Linked DNA regions of Homo sapiens: all the other regions are linked to region 2. Evidence: promoter capture Hi-C in 16 types of primary human blood cells and fetal thymus (Javierre and others, 2016). All regions are on one chromosome and are shown on one strand. Each heading gives the region's core, a stretch centred on a gene start or on the middle of the fragment in contact. The rest is flanking DNA. Distances are from core to core; before and after follow the strand shown. Region 1 holds the start of PER3 (period circadian regulator 3). Region 2 holds the start of PHF13 (PHD finger protein 13). Region 3 has its middle 5.1 kb from the start of TNFRSF9.

Region 1 (4,248 bases), core at 1,590-4,089, 1.2 Mb before region 2:
TGTAATTTTTGTTTTCTCTTAATTCAAGAGAGCTTGGGAATGCTAAGGAGCTAGAAGCACCTCATAACCAAAGTCACTGAGCTGCACAGCACACAGAACGGGCTGCTTCTGCTTTTAGATGTTTTCTCTGGCAAGGGCGGAGAAGCTACACCATGCCTCTTTAGCAGTTCCTCCTTTGCTTCTCTCAAATTGTGGTTGCTGAAACGTTGTTATCCTTCTTAAAAGCCTACATCTAGAGCAGGCCCTTAGGAAAAGTCACCCAGGTTGATATGGCAAAATGCATGAATTCTTACTGTGTTTTTGGAAGTGTGTTCTGAAGCGATAGTGGCCAGCTCCTCAAGACTGTACATGCTCACATCTGCCTGAGGTGCTCCATTCTGACTGAGAATCTGGAAAAACTCACTGTTTGCTAAGAAACACAGGGAGATAAACAGGTAGTCCAGTGACAACAGTATCTTTAGGAAACCATTTCATCACTATCAAGCTGGATTATTTTTTTCGGATGAGAACACCTCAGTGCATTTTTCTCAAAAACAGATCATTTTCTGCTTTTACCTAAAATACTGATAGTTGTGCAAACTTAAGATTTGATTTTATGAATTCTGCATGTTCTGGATCACAGGAAGCAAGATACATTTAAGGTACTAACTAAAAATTTCAGATGCATACACAATTTTTTTGCGGGGGGAGCAGAAACAGTACTCTGTCATTCAGGAACATATCATATATGAAGCACTGAGGTTTGTGCTAAAGAGAATATGGCTTTAATGAAATCCCTGGAAATGTCAGAGAGAAAAAGTGTTTACAATGGTTCATTTTTAGTTTGGTAAATTCCTGATATATCATTACTGCATTTTTATCATTATTATTTTTTAGAGACAGAGTCTCGCTCTGTCACCCAGGCGGGAGTGCAGTGGCGTGATCTCGGCTCACTGCAAGCTCCGCCTCCCGGGTTCACGCCGTTCTCCTGTCTCAGCCTCCCGAATAGCTGGACTACAGGCGCCCGCCACCACACCCGGCTAATTTTTTGTATTTTTAGTAGAGACGGGGTTTCACCGTATTAGCCAGGATGGTCTCGATCTCCTGACCTCGTGATCTGCCCGCCTCGGCCTCCCAAAGTGCTGGGATTACAGGCGTGAGGCACCGCGCCCAGCCTCATTACTGCATTTTGAAAGTATGTGTACGGCATGTAAAGGTAACTATTTCGTGGAATGCATTTTTTTCCCATAACTTCCATAGAAGACAATATTTCTTTAAAAGGTCAGCCTTCAAAATGTGCTTATGCTAAACTCTACTCTCTTGCAACACATGAGCAAAACATTGCATAGGTATTATACACTATTATACAGATAAAGTTTTCCTGGTCTTTCACATGTGAACAATTAAGACACGAATGGAATCGGTGTAGATTTGCTCATCTTCCACAAAGCACCAGAAAAAGCTCAAATTATTTGTCTGACTGAGACCCCACTGACCACTCCTCTGGCTGCTTGTATGAGTCCTGGTGCATTCGTAGGATGAAATTTCTCTCCGGCTTGTTTACCTTGAACGCTGTGGACACAGCGGAGAGCATAGTTGAGGGCATCTAGAGTGCTTGGTTTATTGCGTCTCTCCGAGGGGAAGTATTTTTTCATTTCTTGGACAACCATGATAAGTTCTTCAGAAACTCTGTTTCGATCTTGCTGTTCACTGGAAGATAAAAAAAAATTACAACTTCATCCTCTGAAGACAACAGCATCTTGCGGCTTAGGGAACACAAACTGCAAGCCAGGTAAGTTTCTAAGTGCTCTACCGGCATCAGTCCACAGGGTGGTGACCCCTCTTCCTCTAGGTGGGGAACTCGAGGCAAAGCAACTGGTGAATGACAAACATTCTCCACTTACTTTCCCTTAATCCACTTGAGCCCCAACTCAGCTAACTTTTGTAACCACTTTTCCCTCCTGATACTCTTCGGTAATTTTCTTCAGTGTCACGGATCACTTCATCCTACATTGCCCGAGTCTCCCCTTTACACTTTCCCCTGGGCTTGAAAACAAAAGAATAAAAAGATTTAGGTCCCCCTTTCCCTGCTCCAGGGAAGGACAACGAACGCATGGGGCCCTCGGCCTGAAGCCAGCGCGTCACCTGTGGCTGCTGTCCGCCAATTTCCTCTGCAGATGGAACTCGGGGCTCCACCGCTCCCCCGATTCTTCGCCCAGGGCCTCGTCCTTAGCCCCCCGTCTCCCGGGGCCAGGAGCTTCCCCGCGGGGCATCTCGAGGTCTCCGCGGGGCTCCACGTCGTGCTGGGACGGCCCGCAGCCTGCTTCTCGCTCACTTTGCAGTCAGTGACAGACACCGGTTTCTCACTCCGGTCCCCGCCATGGCGTTAGTGAGAACAGGCGGCCACCACGAGCCAGGGGGTCACGCTCATCTCCGAGGAGCTTTTCCCTCCAACATTTTCAAAACCCGGAGCTCGCTCGACTTTCAGGACTCCGGCCTAGGGGGAGGAGACAAGGGTGACAAGGGACAAATGGAACAGACAGTCCGACGCCAGCGGCCCGGCTGGCTGGGGCGCCCCGACCGCGCGGTCCTCACCCCTGCCCCAACTTTCCCGCGCGCCGAGGGATGGGGCCCGGGGAGGCGGGTGGCTCGGAAGCGCCACGCTCCGGGGGCCCCCAGTACCGAGGGCAGGGCTCGCGGGGCTCCTCTGCCGCGCGCGAGTGCCCAGAACTCCCGCCCGGCCGCCCAGAACTCCCGCCCGGCCGCGCACTCACCTGCTGCCCCCGCCCTTGGCCCCGCGCACAGCCGCTCGCCCCCGGGGCCGCCCTCGCGCAGTCTCGAGGCTCGCCGCGTGCCGGTCAGCAGCCGGCGCCGCGCCCCCTGCCGCCGCGTGACCGGTCCCGCCCCCGGGCCGTGCGATTGGTCGTCGGGGCCGACTCCGCAGGCCTCCATTGGCCCTGGGGCGGGGCGCGAGCCGGTGCGCCCGGGTTATATAAGCCAGGGCGAGGGGGCGGGGCCCCCGGGGCGCGTTACATAACGCGCGGGCTCGGGCGGAGGCCGGCGCTCGGCCAATCCCAGCAGGCCGGCGGGCGGGCAGGGGACGGGGTGGCCCTCAGCGGCCTCAGGCCTGTGCCGCGCGACTGGAGTGTCCGGCCCCCTGGCACGGCGCCGGGGCGGAGCCGCTGAAGCCAGCGCAGAAATGATAGGGCCAGGAAGCTGCCAGCCACGTGGGGGCGGGACCCGGGCTCTGTGGGGCGGGGCGGGTCCGGCCCAACCTCCACGTGAGAGGCGGGCGGGGAAGGAGAGGGGAGTGAGAGGCGGGGGCAGAGAGGGGCGAGAGGCGGAGTCGGGGGGCTTGAGTCGGGGTCAGGGGGAGGCTGGAAATGGGGACGGATGGGGGCGAGAGGCGGGGACGGGGGGGCGGATGGGAGCGGGGGTGCCGAGAGACGTGGGGAGCGAGAGGCAGGGGCGGGGGGGCGACGGTGTCGAGGGCGGGGGCATTAGAGGGAGGGAGAGGCGGGGACTGGGGGCGAGCAGGGGCGGCTCAGGCCAGCGCTCTGGGGTCGAGTCCTGGAGTTTGTAGGTGGCTCCCGGCTGCCCGAGCGGGTGTGGGGAGGAGCCCAGGGTGGGGCGGGCTGCCGGCAGCGGTCCTCATCGTGCTTTGGCCGTCTTTCTGGGTTCCCACGGTTTTCACCGCCCGTGACCTACCGAGCCCACCCCAACCGCCCCCATCCTCCGCTAACTCTTTCGGTGAGTGGGGTGGACTTGGAGGAACCGGGCCATAAAGCAGCCCTGGTAAAAAGCCCACCCGATTTTTAGAAACAGATTTTTTATTTTTTGAGACAGGGTTTTGCTCTGTTGTCCAGGCTGGATGGAGTGCAGTGGCGCGATTTTGGCTCACTGCAACCTCCGTCTTCTGGGCTCAAGCCAGTTTCCTGCTTCAGCCTCCCGAGTAGCTGGAACTACAGGTGCAGCCACCACACCTGGCTAATTTTTGTGTTTTTGGTAAAGATGGTCTGTGTTAGCCAGGCTGTTCTCAAACTCCTAAGCCCCAGTGATCTGCTGGCCTCGGTCTCCCAAAATGTTGGGATTACTGGCGTGAGCCACTGCACCGGCCCAGAAACAGAATTTTGACGGTGGAACTTAAAACACTTCCCTGCACTTCCTAAAATTAGATTCATTTGGCAACTGGAGGAAGACAAACGTAAAAGACACTCTGTTTCAGAAAAGAAGTTGTAGAGCCCTTTAAAAAAAATGTCTGAAAGCTCA
Region 2 (3,925 bases), core at 1,108-3,607:
ACTGCACTCCAGCCCGGTAGACAGAGCTAAGATTCCAACTCAAAAAAAAAAAAAAAAAAAAATCAACCACTCATTCTCCAGAGCTCTCGGAGACCTGGACCCTGGAGTTCACTCCTGGCTGACCCTGCCAAGCTAGCGCCACCTGAGGACCCCTCTCTCGTGCTCAGAGGGTCCCCTCCACTGTCCCAGCCAGTCGGGATGCCAGGCACCCAACTATCTCAACTCACAATAAACCAAGAACCTTACTGCGAAGCTTAGTCTTACATTTAAACGGAATAGTGGAGGTTTTTGCTCGCGGGTCCCAGCCCCATTCCATCTAGAAACACCCATCACAAAAAGATATTTTCTCCTGAGAGAAGCACGGAGAGATGGAGCTCTTATTTGCTCCTAAGCAAAACAAGTGTGCCGTATTGCTGTTTATTCGCCCGGCACGTTCCCTGAGGTTCCTTTCAGTGCCTTGTCCGACCCACCCCCATCCTTCCCGAGGTGCTGTTACCCGGCCGCCACTCTGCTGGGGGAGAGCCGGTGGGGAAATGGGGGGCAGGGGTCTCGGGCCGCCCCTCCCGCCGCGAGGAGCAGGCGTGCGGCCCGCGGGTTTTCTTTCGAGAAAGTCGGTGCCCTTAGAAAATTATTTTCTCAACCTGGTTCAAGCAAACCTTCTCCTCTCCCACCCCCTTGGACCCCAGGGCCGCCCACGGAGCGGAGGCGAAGGCCCGCGTTGACCGCGCTCCCCGCACTGGCGAGCCTGCCCAGCCACGGGAACCGCGGGCCGCCACCCGGGCCTCCAACTCCCGCGAAGAACTTTTCTTTCGGCGGGGAACCAGCAGAAGTGGGTCAAAAACCCGAATGCCAAGTGGAGGGCGGCGACGGCCTCGGGCCGGGGGCGCGCGGGAGGCACCGGCGCGGGGACTGGGGGTTCCACGCCGCCCCCACACGGCCCACGCCGCCCGCCCCCCCGGCCGCCTCCTCGGAAAGCAGATGGCGGAGCGGCCCCCACCCGCCCTCCCGCGGCAGCCGCCCCCCGCGACACTCGGCCCCCGAAGGTGCGGGGCCCATCCCGCGAGTATGTGTGAGGGGGGTGCGCCAGGCAGGATTCCGGGGTCCCAGGCCTGGGGAGGCCCTGCGAACCCCCGGGGGCGGCAGCGAGACCGGCGGGCTCCGGCGCCGCCTCCCCTCCCCCACCCGCCCGCGGTCGCCGGACCCGCACCCCCGACCCCAACGAGCCTCGGCTGGGGGGAGGGGACCGCGCGGGGGGGAGGCCGGGAGCCCCGAGGGCCGATCCCCGGAAGGAGGGGGAGTGAGCCGGGGCGGAGCCAGCAAAGCCCGCGGGCGGGGGGCGGGGGCCCGAAGAGAGAGGCCAGCGCGCCGGGGGGCGGTGGGTGGGGGCAGGACTCGGGTCCCCAGAGCGGGTGGGGCCCCCGGAGGACGCGGCCCCCGAGAGCCGTAGGGGGCGGGGGCCGACTGGGCCCCGCGCGGAGTCAGGGGGCGGGGCGCGGGCCACCGGGCCCGGGGGATCGGGGGAGCAGCCGGGGGCCTCGGGAGCCGACCCCGGTCCGAGGGGGGCCTAAAACTCCTCGAGAGCAACCGGAGCCAGGGGCGGGCGGCGGCTCGGACCGCGTCCCCGGGGGCGGGGAAAGAGTAAGCAGGCCGGCGGGGAGGGGCTGGGGGCGCCGACAGGTCCCAGGTCGACGCGAGGCCGGAGAGGGGCGGCCCGGGGGAGAGAAATAGGCGCAACGGCCCTGGGGAAAGGGCGCGGGGAGGACGCGGAGGTCCGCGGAGGGGACGCGGAGGCGAGGCCCGGCGGAGAGGACCGAGCGCGGGCCCGAGCAGGGGGCGGGGGTTGGGCTCCCGGGGGGGCCGACGAGGGGAAAGCGGGGGAAGGGGAGGGCGGCGCTCCGGGCGACCGGGGGTCTGGCTGCCTGAGGACGGCAGGATCGCGGAGGGGGTGGTCGGGGGCGATTCGGACGCACAGCTTCACTCACCTCCGGGTGGAAGGCGGCGGCGCAAGAGTCAGAGTCCATGTTCCGGGCGGGGGGCGGCGGCGGCTGCGAGAGTGCAGGAGCTGGGATGCTGGAGCGGGGCCGCCCGGGGCTGGGGGCTCGGGCGGCTGCGCAGGGCGAGGGCGGACCCGGGAGGGGTCGCCCGGGCTGGAGGTGATGGGGGGCTCAGCGCGTCGCTTCTCAAGCTCTGTGACCCCGGACTGGCGGTTCCACCGCCGACCGGAGTGGACGATGCAGCTCCCGCGGCGGTAGAGGCGGGAGAGTGGCTGCAGGGGGCGGCGGCGGCGGCGGTGAGCGGGAACCCGACCGGCTCCCCGACCTGACGCCCAGTTCGGCTCGTGTCTCGGGAGGGAGGGCGGGAGAGCCGGGAGGCCTGTCGGGAAATGTAGTCTGGGTGGCGACTGGAAGCCAGCGGCGAGGGGGCGTGGCGCGGGAGGCGGGCGCGGTGCCTTGTGGGAGTGGTAGTCCAAGGCCCCGCCAATACTGCGCACAAAGGAAACCTTGGGGACTCCAACCCCCATGAGGCTCCGCGGCGGCGGCCCCGGTGTGTGGAGGCGGGTCTTCTGGACTCGAGGCCGCGCGAGCGGGGGAGGTGCGGGGGCCCGCGCCGGCTCGGCCGCGGGGGGAGGGGCAGTGTGAGCGGTAGCGCCTTGGTCTCGGCGGGCGCGGGGGCGGGAGTCGCTGCGGCGGTGGGGGCGGGGCTGACGGCCCGGGTTGCGAAGGGCGGCGGCGGCTGGCACCTACCCTTCCTCGTCTCCTACTTGGGGTTCGCGCCCCTTTGTGGGGCGGGGGTCCCCGAGGCCTGGCCGGGAGTAGGGGCGGCAGGGGCGGGGACGCTGACGTCGCGGCCGCCCCGGGCATCGCTCCCCGCTCCCCGCTCCCCGCTGAGGGCGGAGTCGCCGCCCGGCCCCCGCTCCAGGCCGGGCTCAGCGAAGTTGTTTTCGCGGCTGCGGGCTTCGTGCGGCTCCCTGCTCCGGGCCCGCGGGGCCGGGACTGGACCGGGCTCTTCTCTAGGCATCTGCGGGATTCACTCGAGGTGGCCGGGTTCGTGCATTAAAAACACCGGGCCAGCGTTGTCAGTGTTCTAAAGAGGTGTGCGTTCAGTTTGCTTTCTGTTGCCGCCTAAGCCTAACCTTGGGACCGGCCGTTTTCCCACTCTCCTGAATATCCTCCGGCCCGCAGGGCGAGGCGGAGACGCGGTGTTTGGCGCTGGCATCGACTGGTACTTGTTTAGTGGTGTTTAACTGGGATGGGCAGTGTGTAAACGCTGGACCGCAGAGTATCCGACAGCTGTACGTGTGGAAGGCTGGCCGGACACGGTGGGGACTGCCCCTATGCGGTGACCAAAAGGCGGTCTGACGGGAACATTTTTAATATTCGAAAGTGGGGGAAAAAGGTAAGTACAAAACGCAGATGATTCAGTAACCTGTTTGGTAGCTTCGAAGAAGTTAAAGGGGAGTGACACAAAATTGAAAATTCAAATTAGAAAACGAACTCTTGGAGATACTAGTAAGATATTTGACAGGCGCCGAATGCTCCATCAAGCTGGCTGTTGCTATTTCAAGGGTTATGATCATTCTGATGAAGATATTTAATAGTTAGGAGATGGTGTTAATCTTAGAAATACTTCTCTGAGCGGCCGGGCGCGGTGGCTCGCGCCTGTATTCCCAGCACTTTGGGAGGCCGAGGCGGGTGGATCACGAGGTCAGGAGTTCGAAACCAGCCTGACCAACATGGTGAAACCCCGTCTTTACTAAAAATACAAAAATTAGATGGGCGTGGTGGCGGACACCTGTAATCCCAGCTACTCGGGAGGCTGAGGCGGGAGAATTGCTTGAACCCGGGAGGCGGAGCTTGCAGTGAGCCGAGATCGTGCCACTGCACTCCAGCCTGGGCGACAGAGCGAGACTCTGTCTCAAAAAAAA
Region 3 (4,188 bases), core at 381-2,880, 1.3 Mb before region 2:
TCCCAGAGCTCAAACTGTTTAAGCGCATGAGCGACAGCAAGGAGACTTCATACAGGGGTTGTGACCCTGAGGTCCACAGATGCTCAAAGGTGCACAGATAAAAATCAGGGAGTCTGTGAACTTAGATTTAAATTACATCTTTAGTTTCACTAACCTCTAATGGAAATCTAAACCTAACATTTCTTCCCATTTGGAATATAGTAATTCACAAAGCATAGCTGAAGGAACAGTACTCATGGCTTGGGACCAATAGTACTGAAAGTCATCTTCATATCACATTACAGTTCTTGCAGATATCCCAGAATACCATTTTGATTCATGATTAATTTGAAATTATGCCAGATACATGTTAAGTCCATATATTAGTGCATCACAAATTGGCTTTTAAAATATTTGGCAGGGACATTTCAATTCAGTTGGTTTCCTTTGTAATCCTTTGTAATATATTTTATGAATTACGAATCCTATTCTGAGGGCTCCACAAGCATAGGACCCACAAGCGAATGGGGCCTTGGGCACAGGCAGGTTAAGAGTCTGGTTAAGAGCATGGGCTCTGCAGCCAGACAGCCGAGTTTCTAATCCTTTCTCGGCTCCTTACTAGCCAGGTGACACCAGGCAGGCTACCTGGCTTCTCTGTGCCCTTGTTTCCTCACCTGTGAAACAGGGACAAAGGCTGTCCTAAGGTATAATTGTGGGAACTTCTGTAAATACATAGAACAGTGCCTTGCGCATAGTAAGCCCTCGGCCAGTGTCAGCCGTGATCAGAAAAGCATTTTACATGAGACCTGAGAAAGGACAATGACAGCTCAGGTTGGGGTCTGCATGCCAGAATGATTTCCCCAGGAAGAGAGTGAAATTAAAACATTAGGTCATGAAGAGACAGGCAGACCGCAGGACTGGAGTGAACAAATCCATGTATTTATTTGTTCATTTGATAAAGGTTTATTGACTACCAACTGTGTGTCTCTCAGCGCTGTCTCTAACACTTTTGGGGCCTGGAGCAAGTATAGAAATGGGGCCCACACACCATGTCTGAATATTTAAAAGTGGCAAATCAAGCGCAAGGAGAATATTCTACTTCACAGAGAAGTCTTCAAAGTAACTAAATAACAAATTATTTTTATGTAACAAAGTTGGCAAAGATGACTGAGTTTAACTAACATTACAAATGTGTAGATGTTTTCTGATGACCTGAAAATGTTTAAATTAGTGGTAAATAAAGGCATACAGGGCCGGGCATGGTGACTCACGCCTGTAAGCCCAGCACTTTGGGAGGCCGAGGCAGGCAGATCACCTGAGTTCAGGAGTTTGAGACCATCCTGGCCAATGCGGTGAAACCCCGTCTCTACTAAAAATACAAAAATTAGCCGGGTGTGGTGGCACACACCTGCAGTCCCAGCTACTTGGGAGGCTGAGTGGGGAGAATCGCTTGAACCCAGGAGGCAGAGGTTGCAGTGAGCCGAGATCACACCACTGCACTCCAGCCTGGGTGACACAGCGAGACTTCGTCTCAAAAAAAAAAAAAGACACACATAGTTCATAAATAATTGTATTTTTATCTAGAAAATTTATTTTTTTGCTTTCATTTCATTTGTTACAATAGATAATTTCGCATAATTTGTGTTTGGACAGTAATGACTTAAAGGATTAAGAAATAAAATATAATTGTACTTAACATATACAGCATTTGTATGTATTTAATATAATGTGTGAATTTGAGTATGTAAAATTTTAAATTTGTTTTTACATTCGTTTTTTCATTTTTCTAAAAGTTCCAAAAGTATTAGAATTAAAAACAAATTATAGTGGATAAATATCAAATATTTAAAACTTATTTTTATTAAAGAACTGAGATTTTTAATCTTTTGAAATTTAAATTGTTTTAAATATTTTTATAAAAATTGAAATTGTCATTCTGGGTCTCAGTCCTAGGTGATTCTAGTAAAGAATTAATGCTGCAGTTCTTATTCTACATATTACATATGTGCATATTCAAGAATAATATGAATTGTTTAATATTACAAAGTCTTCCTCAGACTTTGTGCATAACTGCTGTGAATTCCATGGCAATATACAAGAACTTCCAAAACCACCAAGTGGGCCATAAATTGGATCAAGCAAGTGGATAACCAGCCTGAGCAACATGGCAAAACCCCTTTCTACAAAAAAATATAAAACTTAGCTGGGCAAGGTGGTGCGCACCTGTAGTCCCAGTTACTCGGGAGGCTGAGGCAGAAGAATCCCTTGAACCCTGGAGGCAGAAGCTGCAGTGAGCCAAGATTGCACCACTGCACTACAGCCTGGGTGACAGAGTGAGACCCTGTCTCAAAAAAAAAAAAAAAAAGGATACTTGGGACTGTAGGGAAATACCACTGTCTGTGATATTCTTGCATAATAATAGATTATACAAGAATCTGTTACACCCTTGGTATCTGAGATGGATTTGACAAATCTACTTGCCTTTTGTCTGCCTGGTACTTCTATGGCTCACACCCTCCCTGCCGTTCTTGGAGGCAACAGCACAGCTCACAACTCTCACAGCACGGTGTCACCCTCAAATGGAGTTTCAAGGACATGGATCCAGGGATGTGGGGGAGTCTTCACCCAGGCCTGGCAGTGTGGGTCCAGAGAGCAGATGGAGCCGAGTTAATGCATCCCTATGCCAGCACCGTGCGCCAGACACCCAGTCACAGACGCAGCTCTGTGTTCATTGTGTTTGTGTGTTTGTGTCTCTGCTCTGGACAGAACATACTTAACAGCGTATTTGGATTGATGAACAATTTCTAAATATTTGGACACATGGTAAGCAGGCCTCTGTTTGTACTCTTGTCCTGGGGACTGCACAGTGTTGGGGGTGGTCTGAAGTTGGAGACAACTATTGATAAGCCTTAGCATATGAGTGGATGCCACCTGGAGAAAGGGCAGAACAAGGAGGAAAGGTGAGCAAAGTCGATGGCTGCTGACACCCGCCTCTCCTTATGATTCGTACTTCCTTCTCCTTACTCTGCCTCCTTCCTCTTTGATTTCCTGCTCATTTTCTTTGTTCCAAGTTTAAAAACAATTTACTCCTTCCCAGGCCTCAGAACACCTACTGACATCACAAGCACCAGGTATGTCTAATAGTGACTACTAGTTTGGGTGTTTGGAGTAGGGGTGGCGACACTGAATCTTGAAAGAATAGATCTTTCAGGCAGAAAACAAGTGTAAACAGTGAATATCCCACGGAAGAGATTCCCTCTAAGATGCGCCCTGGAAGGGCGGAAGAATATTTTATAGGAAGCTTATTTTGAGGGCTTTCTCTTTCTAAATGTCTCCTTTATCCTGTTTAGAATTGTTGGGCCTTCATGCTATTTAGCCTCAAAGTATTTAGCTGCTTGAGATATTCAAGATTAGACCTATAGTCAATCAAAATGAAATAAAATCTATTTCTTGGTTTATTTATTTATTTATTTTTTTTTTATTTTATTTATTTATTTATTTTTTTGAGATGGAGTCTCGCCCTGTCGCCCAGGCTGGAGTGCAGTGGCACGATCTGGGCTCACTGCAAGCTCCGTGTCCCGGGTTCACGCCATTCTCCTGCCTCAGCCTCCAGAGTAGCTGGGACTACAGGCACCTGCCACAACGCCTTGCTAATTTTTTTTTGTATTTTTAGTAGAGATGGGGTTTCACCATGTTAGCCAGGATGGTCTCGATCTCCTGACCTTGTGATCCTCCCACCTCAGCCTCCCAAAGTGCTGGGATTATAGGCATGAGCCACTGCACCCGGCCTATTTCTTGGTTTAGAATGAGATGCTTAGGATGTGATGAAACAGATTATTAATACTGCTTAGGATGGATGAAACATATTATTAATATTATTAATACTGCTAAAGTGTTGCTGTCTTGTCGGGGTCATCTCTGATTTAGTTTGAGATGGTTTTATGGAATAGAAAAAGCTTTTGTTGCATTTGAAAGATTACAGGGCTACAATGGATAAAGCAATATGATACATGTTATAAAGCAAATGAAAATTATACCAAAAGAGTATTACACCTTTGGCTAGCTTAGATAGTATGTATATCTGGTTAACTATATAATTTGACTTAGCTTACTACGATGATTTTATACCACACAAAAATGCATGCAGTAACATGAATTCTTTTTTTTTTTTTTTTTGAGACAGTCTAGTTTTGTTGCTCAGGCTGGAGT

The links. Contacts are between HindIII fragments. The CHiCAGO score rates a contact against its expected background, and 5 or more counts as called.
Region 1: the fragment with the promoter of PER3 here is called in contact with the fragment with the promoter of PHF13 in region 2 in 1 of 17 cell types (M0 macrophages); the score reaches 6.3 in M0 macrophages.
Region 3: a contact is called between a fragment that was not itself captured here and the fragment with the promoter of PHF13 in region 2, in 1 of 17 cell types (neutrophils). The highest score is 5.1, in neutrophils.

The regions. Positions count from the first base shown.
Region 1 is chr1:7,782,882-7,787,129 of GRCh38, reverse strand. It overlaps PER3 (period circadian regulator 3), which reads right to left and starts at 2,839. Exons shown (of 22, transcript NM_001377275.1): 1 at 2,754-2,839; 2 at 2,125-2,476; 3 at 1,544-1,689; 4 at 294-409. The coding sequence starts at 2,252. RefSeq lists a silencer at 2,764-3,373. The HindIII fragment of the contact is 8,097 bases long and covers 1-4,248 here.
Region 2 is chr1:6,612,163-6,616,087 of GRCh38, reverse strand. It overlaps PHF13 (PHD finger protein 13), which reads right to left and starts at 2,357. Exons shown (of 4, transcript NM_153812.3): 1 at 1,983-2,357. The coding sequence starts at 2,021. LOC107984913 (a long non-coding RNA gene) reads left to right here and starts at 2,701. Exons shown (of 2, transcript XR_001737882.3): 1 at 2,701-3,396. RefSeq lists silencers at 1,169-1,628, 1,769-1,858, 2,029-2,808, 2,859-2,908. The HindIII fragment of the contact is 6,383 bases long and covers 256-3,925 here.
Region 3 is chr1:7,943,846-7,948,033 of GRCh38, reverse strand. No RefSeq gene overlaps it. Among named protein-coding and RNA genes, the nearest start is that of TNFRSF9, 5.1 kb to the right of the region's middle. The HindIII fragment of the contact is 3,304 bases long and covers 1-3,282 here.